Linked DNA regions of Homo sapiens: region 1 is linked to region 2. The links are contacts of gene promoters, found by promoter capture Hi-C in blood cells and fetal thymus (Javierre and others, 2016). All regions are on one chromosome and are shown on one strand. The core of a region is centred on a gene start or on the middle of the fragment in contact, and the rest is flanking DNA. Distances in the headings are between cores, read along the strand shown. Region 1 holds the start of KRT28 (keratin 28). Region 2 holds the start of IGFBP4 (insulin like growth factor binding protein 4).

Region 1 (6,589 bases), core at 2,630-5,129, 360 kb before region 2:
TGAAGCTGCTTGTTTGCAGAGGTTTAATCATTTCCACCTGAGGACAGCAGGGACCCAGGCTGGAGAGGAGGTTCCGCCCCTGGCATCTGCGCGGCGAAATCCATATGTAAACGAGCCCTGCCCCCTGGTGGAAGGAGAAGGGTGAGCGTGCCCGGCAACTGGGATGGTCAGGATCCTAATGACAGACGCTGGCTGAAAAGGAGAATCCGCTTATTTAAGCATATACTTTTTAAAGAAATAGTTTGTCATTTTTTCTTTTTGTTGTTTTCATGTGTTTTTTAAATTAACAAATTATAATTGTGTATATTTATGTTGTACAACATGATGCTTTAAAATATATGTACTTTTTAAAGAAAACAAAAAAAAACCCAGGGTGATGTTTTAAAATATGTATACATTTTTAAAGGAAAAAAACCCAGTTTTCTTTTGATTAAGAAAAGTTAAAAAAAAGACAAAAAGAAAATACGTGTACATTGTGGAATGGCTCAGTCAAAGTAATTAACCCACACATCACCCCATATCTGTATCATCTTTTGTGGTGAAAACACTTAAATTCTACTCTCTTAGCAATTTTCAAGTATGCAATGCATTGTTGTTTCTTTTCTTGTTGTAAAATGGCCTTTTGGAAACATTTTACTTACTTATAAAGGATACAGACACGTTACACCAATGAGTTGTCTAATTATTATTTGGAGTTTAGTAATAAATGAGAGATTTGCAATTCTTTATACATTTTCATATTCTAATTCCTTATAGCTAAATCTCAGCAATTCAATTAGAATCATTTTACAACTCACGCGTGTTAAGACTATGGATGGTGTATGCTAGAAAATTTCAGCTTATATATTTCCCTATGTGTTACATGCGTTTTATTTAACTTTGTTATACTGTGTATATTGTGTACATACTGGACAAGTGAGTCCTAATTTTATAATATCTAGTCTCTAGATATTAAAGAGGTTGCCAATGTTTAAAAAAAGACTACAAATGGCAACATATAAAGTATTTGTATGAGCATGCATCATAGAGTAATTACTTATGTCTAAATATATTCACGGTGCCAGAATACCAAGGTCAACTTGAACATATGCCACGTTTTCACCTGGCCTATCCCTCACAGCTCTGAGCAAATTGTTCAACATTTCTGAGTCTCAGTTGCCCTGAACTGCCAAATAAGGGGCTAAATTAGGTGATGTCTAAGGCTCTTTGCAACTCTAAAAATATCCTACAACTTTGTCCAGAAAATGCATCTTAGAGGCCACACGCGAGCCACCCTCAGCACCAGCTAATCAGGCTCCAGACTGTTTAGGCCAAGGCAATTCCAGGAGACCACCCCTGACTATTCTGGTGGCAAAACAATTTTATACTTGTCATCACTCCCTGAACCCAGTCAAATCCAACCAAGTGGACTCAAAACCAGTCACGTCCAACCAAGTGTCTCCTGTCCCTTGTCCCTCCTTTTTCCTGCCCTGCCAACCCTCTTCATCCCCACCCTCCACAGCCATGGCCTCAAGAGGAAGGAGGCTTCTCCTTGGTCACCTCTCCTTCCCTTCCAGCCTGATGTCCCAGCCCTCCACACTCACACACCCAGTTAGGAACAACACCAATAGTAATAATAATGGCTTCCATTCATTGACAGTTTTCCATTTGCCAGGCACCGCACTAAGCATGATCTCATTTAGTTTTTCAACAAGCTTATGAGGTGGAAACTCTTTTTACCCACACTTTGACAATTACATGAACCTTTTCTGCAGACCTCTCTGCAAAATAGTTCAACTGAAATGATTCTTTAATAGCATTAACCACTTTCTGCTGAATTGTCCTAACAACTTTTTCTATCAGAAACTTATCCTTCATCCTCGATCTCCATTCCCATCTCTCTCCCCTTTCCTCTCATTTTCTCCCACATCTTTTCCTCTCATTTTCTCCCACATCTTTTCTTGTCATCTCCTCTCCATCCTCCTTCTTCACTTCCATCTCCTCTTCTGCTCCCACTTCCACACACCTAACATAAGGACTTCAAGGCAGAGTCTGTGTTCTCTAGATCCCCAATGCCACATCTAGCTTTGTGCCACTTAATTCTTATGCTAAGACTCCTCTTTTGAGGCAAATGCCATCCAATGGCCCCTCACCACATACACTCCCCTCTGCCTCATCATCCAAAAACCTTGACAATGGCTCACAGCCCACTTCCCTCCTGTCTCCTGCCATCATGAGAAACTTCACGCCTTTATAGATGGTACATTTAATGTCACAGACAGATAGTTCCTGACCTCCTACTCTCTTGCCTTTCAGGTCCAATCCACTTCTGACTTCTTGTTCCAGTGACTGTTGGTCCACTCCCATGACTACTCTGTGGACTTTGGTGACACCTGGAGTTGTGCCTACTTTAAAATTCTAAATTCTGGTTTCCACTATCCAATTTTAGCCTGTCATCCTTCACCTTTATCAATCTCCTCCTCACACTCCGCCTGCTCCATGACCTCATAAGGATACCCAATGACTCACCCTCTGCCCTTTTCTTCAGTCCATCTGTCCCTCTGGTTTTACTTTCTTCTTGCTATATGATCATACAGTCAATCGCCTCAATTGTTTTCTCAAGAACACCAGAAATTTCTTTGCCACTATTTCCTTCTTCTGGACCTGTCTTCAAATCCCAAAACCCACATCAATCTGATCATCATCCTTTCTATTCCTGCACCAGGATTACTTCCAAATATGCAGTTGAACATCATTATAAATGAGAGCTGGACCCTCCAATTTTCTTTTACTCATTGCTAGTCAAGTATTTTTCCAGTTCAGTATACATATTCTAAACAGTCATTCTTGCTATCAGTCACCTTCATCTGGAACATTCTGGCAACCCCTCAAATCCAGTTGGTCCAAACCTAAACTCAGTGTCTTCCTCCTCCTCTATTCCCCATCTCAGTGAATATTATGAGTTCCCAGAATCTAAAATTAATTACCTAAGAGTTATCCCCAATTCTGCCTTATTCCCTACTCTCCAAATTCAATCATATTACCATATGCTCTCAAAGCCATCTTCTCTGCATCCCCACTGCCTTCATCCTTCTCACCTGGACCATTATTCCAACCTTGTAATTGACCACCTTGTTTCATTTCAACCTGATCATTTTGCCCTCTGCTTTTTACTTAGGATTCATTACAAACTCTTTAGACCAGCACAGAAAGCTAACCATGATCCAGCCCCTGTCTGGACCTGACAATAGATTTCTTAAAGATTGTAATCACGCATTTTTCACTTCTGCATTTAGTTAACACTATGTCTTTCATTTTAGCACTTAGCATAGAGCACCAAACATCATAACCATGCTATTTTAAACAAAATAATAGGTCAATATTTGTGTCATTGTCCAAGATAATAAATAGATGTTATAATCATGGTAAGAACAGAGATGTCACTAGCCTCTGTTTTCTAAATAACACATTTTTTTCTGGTGGGATAAAATATCTGTTTCTGTAATTAGCAGTCCTTTATACCCCTCCATGGTAATTGAGACCCTACTGTACCTCACAGAACTCTATCATAATCTTACTTAACTTTATAAAAAATTTGATAATACCTGGCGCCAGATAATGACAGTATATGCCTAGGGTCTAGATGAAAGGAAAGGATTACTCACTCAAAATTAGAAGTTAAATTAATAAACTTAATATAGAACAAACCCTATTATATTTAAGATAAGAAATAGCCCAAAGCAACACCGAGGGATGTTAGACATTAATTATTTTTAAAATCACCCAATTATACATAATTTTATGCTAATCTAAGTGATGCCATTTTGCTTTTGGCATGTATAACTCAAATAGGAACGCCCCAATAATGATATATAAAAACCCAAAGAAATTATCAGTGCATGATATTCTGTTCTCTTGGGACATTACAGTTTTGCATAGACAAGGTGAACATTTCTCAAAACACCATGTCTCTCCAATTTTCTAATGGATCCAGGCATGTTTGCTTAAGGTCTGGAGCTGGATCTGTCAGACCCCTCAATGGAGGTGCAGGCTTTGCAGGCAGCAGTGCATGTGGTGGCTCTGTTGCTGGAAGTGAATTTTCCTGTGCCTTGGGAGGGGGCTTGGGCAGTGTTCCTGGTGGGAGCCATGCTGGTGGTGCCCTTGGAAATGCTGCTTGTATTGGCTTTGCTGGAAGCGAAGGGGGACTCCTCTCTGGAAATGAGAAGGTGACCATGCAAAATCTTAATGACCGCTTGGCATCCTACCTGGATAATGTGCGAGCTCTGGAGGAGGCAAATGCTGAATTAGAGAGAAAAATCAAGGGTTGGTATGAAAAATACGGACCTGGATCTTGCCGTGGACTTGATCATGACTATAGCAGATATCACCTAACAATTGAGGATCTTAAGAATAAGGTGAGAAATCACAGATTTGGAACTAACCCAAGTATTTAAAACTAAGAAATACCTAACAAAAGACATACAATAAGAAATGCTTCATGACTGTTATAACTTGTATTTATTTATTTAGATAAACAATTCTTCCTACTATTCAAAAATGGGCCCTTTGATTCATGAATTTTAATGTAGTTAAAATGTTATTAGTTCCATTGTTTATGTTGAAGTACATTCATAGGCATATGAATAAAAAAGTATTGTAGTTCTAAATTTAGGGGAATATATGAGAATAAATAAAACCATGTCTTTAATTTTTAAAAGTTAAACTTGAAACATTTTGATTATTACATAAGGAGGTGAAATTTTTATGCAAAAACTTGAGTAACCTTTTTCATTTCCTGAAATAATGAATCACATAAAAGCATACTTACTTGTTGTGTTCTCTGTTTTGGTTTATTCTAGATTATCTCCTCCACTACTACTAATGCTAATGTCATTCTGCAGATTGATAATGCCAGACTGGCTGCTGATGATTTCAGGCTAAAGTAAGTGACAGAAGAAAATCCTGCTCTAGAAAAAAGTTTCTATTTATTTAATTTGTTAAATAAAATTTCTATTTCATCCCAAGTAGAATGAACTATCACCTAAAAGATAAAAGGAAGCAAAGGATTTGTATTATAATGTTACAATCAACTTATACATAGTTATTATATTCCTGGGACAAAATATCAATATATTTCTCTGCCTGCCTAGAATACTGCCAAGCACAAAGTAGATGCTCAGTAAATCATTAGTCAACTAAGGAAAAACGTTAACTAAAATAAAATTCCAAAATGGTGTATTTTTATTTAACTAGGTTATGCTATTGGAATTTGTGTGATGAAATAACTTCCAATTATCCTGTACAGAATTGAGTGGGGGTAATGCAGGAGCGCTTTCTTCATATATTTTTATACTATTTACAGTCCTAATTCAATTTCTAATTTTCAGTTTAAAGCAATTGGGATTGAATATTTCTGTTTCTTGGGGTAGTCTTACTGGCACTGAAATTCACTTAAATGCCCCCCAAGGTATGAAAATGAGCTCACCCTTCACCAAAACGTAGAGGCCGACATCAACGGATTACGGCGAGTCCTGGACGAGCTGACGCTCTGCAGGACCGACCAGGAGCTGCAATATGAGTCTCTGAGTGAGGAGATGACATATCTCAAAAAGAACCACGAAGAGGTAGGAGAAGCTTTACCTGTAGTCCAATCACAACTCTGTACATTTTAAATACTGGGCAGGGGTTGGGGGTTAAAATCACAATAGTAATTCAGGTTCATTGTTATAATTTGCCAACGGATACAGACAGATTAGTCTAATAATACTACCTACTACGAGGGGATGTTAAAAGGCTTCAATGAATTAATACATATCACACGCTCAGAACAGTGCCTGGCCTATAATAATCACTCAATAAATGACAGCGGTCATCCCTAGGATGAATGCCTATGAGGGCCAGGATTTCAGGATTTTTTCTACTGTTCTATTCCCATCAACCTGACATTTAGTCAGTAACTATATGTTGAGTAACTCTCCGGTCTTTAAATCCCTTTCTCATTTAAAAGAATAAATTACTTCTCTTGGGGTGCTATGACTGTTTTTGGTGGTGGTGGTAATTTTAATTAACAGGTCCCTAATTTTTTTTGTTTGTTTTCTATTGCTTTGTTTTGAGACAGAGTCTCGCTCTGTGGCCAGGCTGGAGTGCAGTGGCGCAATCTCAGCTCACTGCAACCTCCACCTCCCAGGTTCAAGCAATTCTCCTGCCTCAGCCTCTGGAGTAGCTGGGACTACAGGCGCACACCACCAAGCCTGGCTAATTTTTGTATTTTTAGTAGAGATGGGTTTTCGCCATGTTGGCCAGGCTGGTCTGGAACTCTTGGCTTCAAGTGATCCGCCCGCCTCAGCCTCCCAAAGTGCTGGGATTACAGGAGTGAGCCACCTCGCCCGGTCAACAGTTCACTAATTAAATAGATGATTGGCATGAATATGGACCGAATATGTCAATTAAAAAATTGTGTGCCATAAATTATACACCTGACCGCAAACTTTGAGACATAAAGTAACACGTTTGAGAACTTCTCAGACTGAGTGTGAACCTGCAATGCCCCTAAAGCCACACTCTTGCTTCTCTCCAGGAGATGAAGGCTCTGCAGTGCGCGGCTGGGGGC
Region 2 (7,024 bases), core at 2,698-5,197:
ACGCTGATCTTTCCGCTGTCCACTCCCCCAGATTCCATGAGTCTAGGATCAGTACCAGGATGCAGAGGTGTGGACTTTTGATGCACACGCCCCGCCTCATCTCTGGTGGCCTCAGTGGTGTTAAGCCACAACCTGGCCAGCACATGGAAAGCTGTGACAGGAGGGCAGGCAGGGGTGGCTGGAGACGGAAAGGGGAGATCTGCCCCTGGGGCAAACAGGAGGCAGCTGGACCATAGCAGCCAAAGAAGGGGGCATGCCAAGTGGCCACCCTCCCCCAGCCACCTGCTGACACTCAGCCCCAAAAGGAAAAGGCAGAAAAAATAGACAGGTACCCTCGACCAAGCTATTCGCGGGCCAGTGGGCCCAAACCTTGGGACCTAAAGCAGACAGTGGCCTACTGACTGTGTAAGGCTAAAAAGATGGGTGGGTAGGGGCTTGGTCGTCTTATCTCACCCACAGACCCTGCAGGGCTGCAGCAGAACTCTAGAGAGTGCCTTTTACATGGTGCCATGTGGCCCAGGTCACAGCAAGGGATTACTTCTATGATGACTAGGAGGTGTGGGAGGGCACGGGCATAGCTTGCTCAGTAGGTACCTCCAGGCTTCCCTCGTCTCTCTCCAGATACCTGCATCCATTGCATGGCTGGAGGCTGGAGGACAAGGCAAGGAGGAAAGGGGGAGGGGCATTACAGACCTTGGCTGTGTCATCCAAAGGGGACCTAAAGCCACCCCATTCCAAGACACCGTTTTTTGTTTTTTTTGTTTATTTGTTTTGTTTTCTTTAGACAGAGTCTCGCTCTGTCACCCAGGCTAAAGCGCAGTGGCACAATCTTGGTTCACTGCAACCTCCACCTCCCGGGTTCAAGTGATTCTCCTGCCTCAGCCTCCCAAGTAGCTGGGACTACAGGCACGCACCACCATGCCCAGCTAATTTTTGTATTTTTAGTAGAGACGAGGTTTCACCATGTTGACCAGGCTGGTCTCAAACTCCTGACCTCAGGTGATTCACCCTCCTCAGCCTCCCAAAATACTGAGATTACAGGTGTGAGCCACTGCACCCGGCCTACTTTTTTTTTTTTTTTTTTTTACGAAATAGAGTCGCCCAGGCTGGAGTGCAATCACGTGATCATAGCTCATTGTAACCTTGAACTTCTCATCTCAGACTCCCAAATACCTGGGACTACAGGCATGAGCCACTGCAGTTGCCTATTTTTTTTTTTTTTTTTTTGTAGAGACGGGGGTCTGGCTATATTGCTCAGGCTGGTCTCGAACTCCTGGCCTCAAGCAATCCTCCCAAAGTGCTGGGATTACAAGCATGAACCTCCACACCCAGCCCCTAGATATTCCTGGAGGCCAGTTTGCATTATATCCAGAGGACAACCACAAAATTCTCATGCCATGCCCTCCCCAAACCCCTAGGGGATCTTATTTTCCTCCACTACAGGATGGAGTATTCCTACCCAACCAGAGGATGAGGTATTCCTACCCAGCCCTTTGAGGGCTCTTCTGTCTTGCATTCAAAGTGCTGAGAGAGGAGGAGGCTACCAGCCATCCTTATCTGGTGCCAGATACCCTCTGGCTGGTGGAGGATGGAGATTCAAAGGGAACGTGACTCTGTTGTACCCCGCGAACCCAAGGGCTCGGCCCTTGCTCCCTCCCAGTCTCAGTACCCCTCCTCTACCATTGCCACTGGCATCTCTGCCCCAAGATTAGCGACTTTCTCCCCCAGGACCCCCCTTCCCAGATATGCTGGGTGCCAGGCTGGCATTTCTCCTAGAATGTTTTCTGCTGACCCATCTCTCCCTACCCAGGGGCAGGAAGGGCAGAGAGGCCCGAGGCCCAGACCCCTGGAGTCCACCTCCTTCCTGTTTTCCCTGCATCCTGCTCTCCTCGGCTGACAAGCTGCAGAGGATTGAGGAAGTGGAGGGTTTGGGTCCCAGGACAGGAAGCTTGGGGCTGGAGTCCCAGCATCCGGACTGCAACAATGGAAGCTTCAAGCACCAGGAAAAGAGACAGAGACAGACAGAGGCACAGGAGAGCAAAACAGGGTCGGAGATGGAATGAGAAACAGAGGCATAGATACAGAAAGACAGACAGAGAGATTCCCAAAGTAACAGGGAAAGACCAACAGTGACAGAGACACAGAGAAACAGCAACAGAAAGAGAGGGAGAGAAGCAGAGCAACTGAAACAGAAACACAGAATAAGGTGGAGAAAGAAACGCACGATGGGCAGAAGACACTGAGGAAAACAGAACTCGAGAGCATGACTAGTGAAACTAGAGGTTGAGAGACAAATCAGGAAGAACAAAAGAGCAAGAGAAAGAAGGAAAAGAGACTGAGAGTCTAAGGAGAAACTGAGAAACAAAAAAAGAAAGTGTAAGAATGAGGTTAGGGCAAGGGCCTTCTCAGAGTCTCTCTCTCTCTCTCTCTCTCTCTCTCTCTCTCTCTCTCTCTCTCTCTCTCTGTCTCTGTGTGTGTGTGTGTGTGTGTGTGTGTGTGTGTGTGTGTGTGTTTCTCTCTCTCTCTCTCTCTCTCTCTGTTTCTCTCCCCTGGCGCCCTGGCCCCTTCTCTATTCCCTATCCCACACACATGAGGCTCCTGCAGCTCTCGGCTAGGAGCCAAGACTTTTCTACCACCTCAAATCCTACCTGCCTGGAGAAAAGAACAGGGGGCCTGTATACCAGGGCAGGCAGAGGTGTCCAGGCCTGGCAGAGGGACCCCTGTCTTCCCACTGCCTCTCAAACAACAAGGTGACCTGGCTCTGGGCTTTGGGGAAGGGCAAGTCTAATGCCCCTCAACGCCAAAGTCCCTCTAATTTGTATGTCCCACTCCACCACTGGACCATGTAAAAAAAAAGTTCAGGCCCTGGCTCCCCAGACCACTGGGATTTCACCCTCGGCCTGGATCAGGAACAGAAAGCTTTCCCCACTCCCTCATCCTCCCCAACACACACCCCACCACCATCCTCCAGTTCTCTGGCCCTAGACAGCTGACTTAACTGGACCTTAATCTGCCACTCCTGCACCAGCAGCCAGGCCTCCCACTGGGACCCCCTTATCAAACAGACAACCCTTGGAGGTTTGAGATGGAGCGATGGGACAGTCTCCCTTGGTGGTGGCAACAGGCTGCTAGGGACTCGGTAGCAGTTTCCTTGATGAGCCTGTCCCATGCCAGTCGGGCCCTGCCACGTACCTGCCTTCTCTTCAACTCATAGGGGATTTTTAAGGGCCTTCCAGGGCGGCTGGAATGGGGAAGAAGCCGCTGGGAAGGGAGCGCACTCAGGAGGGAATTGGGAGGCCAGGGGTACCTTACCAGAGGGCTGCAGGCTTTCCTGGATGGCCTCGATCTCCGCCAGCTCCATGCACACGCCTTGCCCGTGCATCAGTGTGTGCAGGGGCTTCTCCACCCCTCGGGGCGGGTAGCAGCGCAGGCCCGAGCCGCAACGGGGGGTGTACACCCCGCAGGGCATCCCCAAGCCCAGGGCGCAAGTGGCGCAACAGCCGCAGCCCGGCTCTCGCACCAGCTCCTCGCAGCCCACGGGGGGGCGGCAGCGCGCCAGCTTCTCCTCGGAGCAGGGCGGGCAGTGGATGGCTTCGTCGCCCAGGCTCGGCCCGGGCCCGGCGGCCAGCAGCAGGGCGGCCACGAGGCAGAGGGGCAGCATGACCGCCCGAGGACTGGGCGCGGGCGCGGGGCGCTGGGCGCAGGCGGGGAGCGCGGGCGCGCGGGCGAGCGGCGGAGGGCACACGGCGGCAGCGCCTGGCGCTCCTGGAGGACCCGACCCGGAGGGCGCGGGGAGACGGGGCGGCCCGGCGGGCGAACGGGGACGTAGCGGGGGAAGTTAGCAGGCGTGCCGGAGGGGAGCAAGCCTGGCCGCCGAGGCGCTGCGCCGCATCCTCGGCCCGGCCCAGGCAGGCGGCGGGCGGCGAGGGGCAGGGGGCTGAGCGGCTGCCCGGGACCGGCTCCCCCGGACTTTATACCGGTCCCTGGCCACACCCCCAGCGCCTTCCCAGAGGTGGGGGAGCCGGGGCGGGCGAGGGGGAGAGGGAGAGGCGGCCGTTAGGGGGAGGGGGCGCTGTCCTGAGTCGCCGCCGCCGCCGCCGCCGCATCTGAAAGTCCTTTTCTGCCGAAGAAGGAAGCGGCGCAGTTTGGAAGCTGTAGCAGGCGCCCAGAGTGCCTCTGAACCGGAGCCCCGGAGGGGAGGCAAGGGAGAAGGGAAGCCAAGGGGCTGCTGCGGGGCCCCCTTTCCCGACCTCGGAGGAGTCTCGTCCCGCCCCGCCAAGGCGGCCTCAGTCTCCCACCGAGAAAGGGACTTCCTAGCCCGGACTCCCGGCTCTGCGGATCCGGTCTTCCTGGACAGAGCCCTTTCCACCGCACCCCGGTGCTTCCAGCCTCAACCGCTGGAGACCAAGCCTCCTGAGGTGGGGTAAAGCGTACAGGCACAGCTAGGGGCACAGAAAGGCCTGGAGGCCCTAAGACGTTAACAGGCTCTTGCCACTTGCCCCTTGCAACCTCTCCCGCCCCCGCAATCTCCCCAGGGCGCATTTGGGCCCTGGTCCACCCTGCTTCCCCAAGATGGAATCAGCAGAACTCCCGGGGAGGGAGGTGCCGCCGAGCCTCTTCCTCCTTCTTGGATGTTTGCCTCTCAGGCCCATTCAGACCCACTCGTGGAGGGAGGCAGGCCTGGGAGATTGCCACTTGCAATGTGCAAGTTTTGCGTTGAACAACTCCAGTGGGGCACCATTCCTTGTAATCATTGTGTATTTGTAGAGCTGTTGTGATCATTTCCCAGATGGCAGTGAAGGATTTGAGGGGCCTGCAGCAGTGACTCACACCTGTAATGTCAGCACTTTTGGAGGCTGAGGCGGGAGGATCACTTGAGCCCAGGAGTTCAAGACCAGTCTGGGCAACGTAGTGAGACCTTGTCTCTACAAAAAAATTTTAAAATTAGCCAGGTGTGGTGGCGTTCACCTGTGGTCCCAGGTACTCGGGAGCCTGAGGCAAGAGGATCACTTGAGCCCAGGAGTTGGAGGCTGCAGTGAGCTAGAATTGTACCACTGCACACCAGCCTAGGTGAAAGAAGGAAACTCTGTCTAAAAAAGAAAGAAAGAAAGAAGGCCGGGCGCGGTGGCTCACGCCTGTAATCCCAGCACTTTGGGAGGCCGAGGCGGGCAGATCACGAGGTCAGGAAATCGAGACCATCCTGGCTAGCACGGTGAAACCCCCTCTCTACTAAAAATACAAAAAGTTAGCCGGGCGTGGTGGCGGGTGCCTGTAGTCCCAGCTACTAGGGAGGCTGAGGCAGGAGAATGGCATGATCCCGGGAGGTGGAGCTTGCAGTGAGCTGAGATTGCGCCACTGCACTCCAACCTGGGCGACAGAGCGAGACTCCATCTCAAAAAAAAAAAGAAAGAAAGAGAAAAAAGAAGGCCAGGCGTAGTGGCTCATGCCTGTAATCCTAGCACTTTGGGAGGCCAAGGTGGGCAGATCACCTGAGGTCAGGAGTTTGAGACCAGTCTGGCCAACACGGTGAAACCCCATCTCTACTAAAAATACAAAAATTAGCCGGGCGTGGTGGCGCATGCCTGTAATCCCAGCTACTTGGGAGGCTGAGGCAGAAGAATCGCTTGAACCCCAGGAGGAGGAGGTTACAGTGATCCAAGATCATACCACTGCACTCCAGTCCAGGTGACAGAGCAAGACTCTGTCTCAAAAAAAAAAAAAAAAAAGAATTTTAAGGAAGGGATGCTTTTTTAATTCACCCAGTGTTGCTACTTGGGCTAGTGTTGGGCCTGGCTTGACCCTCTGTAAAATCCTATTGATCCCTATTCCCCCAGCCTTGCCCAATCCTGCCCAAATTGAGAAGAGCCCTGGAGTGGCATTTGGAGCAAAGATCCATCTCCTAGGTTCCCTCTCAGGCCCCCGCTAATTCCCACCCATTCTTCCCTACAAAGGCTTCTGCTGTACTGGAGCTGGTTTCAGGTTAAGCGTACCTGTCCAGGAATAATCAGTAACCCACTGTGGATTTTTTTTTTTTTTTGTCTCGGCCTAGAAAGCTGCAGGTCAGCCAAGCTGAAATGCAGTTCAGAGACCCTCTTCCTGCTTCTTCCCCCAGGACAGGGGTCTTTCAGCCTCACGGGGATTGGGCTACCTCCTACTTACTGAGAGATGATTGCAGGGAGATTGGGACTGGCAGCCGGACCTGCAGGACAGACCAAAAAGTTGCAAACTGACGGCACCTACTGGCAACCATCAAGACTGCAGAAGGGCTGGAAAGTGATGGCTGGGGCCAAGATTCTGGGGTTCTCTCCATTCCATCTCATAGATGAAGTGGGGACCCTTCTGCCCCATATGCCTTGGAGAAGGGCAAACAGAACCAGCTTCCTCAAGTCCCTGGGGAAGCCCAGCCTGTGCCTGATTCAGAAAACTGCCCCCAGGCCGGGCATGGTGGCTCACGGCTGTAATTCCAGCACTTAGGGAGGCCAAGGCGGGTGGATCATGAGGTCAGGAGATCGAGACCATCGTGGCTAACACGGGGAAACCTCGTCTCTACTAAAAATAAAAAAAATTAGTCAGGCGTGGTGGCACGTGCCTGTAGTCCCAGCTACTCAGGAGGCTGAGGCAGGAGAATCGCTTGAACCCAGGAGATGGAGGTTGTAGTGAGCCGAGATCACACCACTGCACTCCAGCCTAGGCAACAGAGCAGGATTCAGTCTCAAAAAAAGAAAAAAAGAAAAGAAAACGTTCCCCACCCCATCTCCTTCCTTGATCATCACTGGACCCTGTTCTGCCACCAACTTGCGTGAACTTGGAGTTTGACTGACCTTAGCTGTAACATGGAGGTAGATCATCTCCACCCATCCTACCTCTTGAAGCTCTTGTGAGAGTAAAATGAATGGAGAAGAGTAGTTCTGCTCCCAATGCCAGACATGTGCCCTGTTCAGCAAGCCCAAGAGGAGAAAAGGTGCCAGGACACAGAGGCAGGAGTGCAGGAGAGGCCGGACAAACCCACGCAACATGCCTGGGA

Evidence for each region. The method cuts DNA at HindIII sites, captures the fragments that hold promoters and counts their contacts. A CHiCAGO score of 5 or more calls a contact.
Region 1: a contact is called between the fragment with the promoter of KRT28 here and the fragment with the promoter of IGFBP4 in region 2, in 1 of 17 cell types (naive B cells). The highest score is 5.0, in naive B cells.

The regions. Positions count from the first base shown.
Region 1 is chr17:40,797,249-40,803,837 of GRCh38, reverse strand. It overlaps KRT28 (keratin 28), which reads left to right and starts at 3,879. Exons shown (of 8, transcript NM_181535.3): 1 at 3,879-4,394; 2 at 4,839-4,921; 3 at 5,447-5,603; 4 at 6,557-6,589. The coding sequence starts at 3,945. LOC105371776 (a long non-coding RNA gene) reads right to left here and starts at 2,504. Exons shown (of 4, transcript XR_934753.2): 1 at 2,274-2,504. RefSeq lists an enhancer at 4,701-5,900. The HindIII fragment of the contact is 3,919 bases long and covers 1,697-5,615 here.
Region 2 is chr17:40,440,373-40,447,396 of GRCh38, reverse strand. IGFBP4 (insulin like growth factor binding protein 4) reads right to left here and starts at 3,947. Exons shown (of 4, transcript NM_001552.3): 1 at 3,313-3,947. The coding sequence starts at 3,661. RefSeq lists silencers at 3,741-3,790, 3,801-3,850, 3,861-4,050 and an enhancer at 6,097-6,146. The HindIII fragment of the contact is 4,750 bases long and covers 2,922-7,024 here.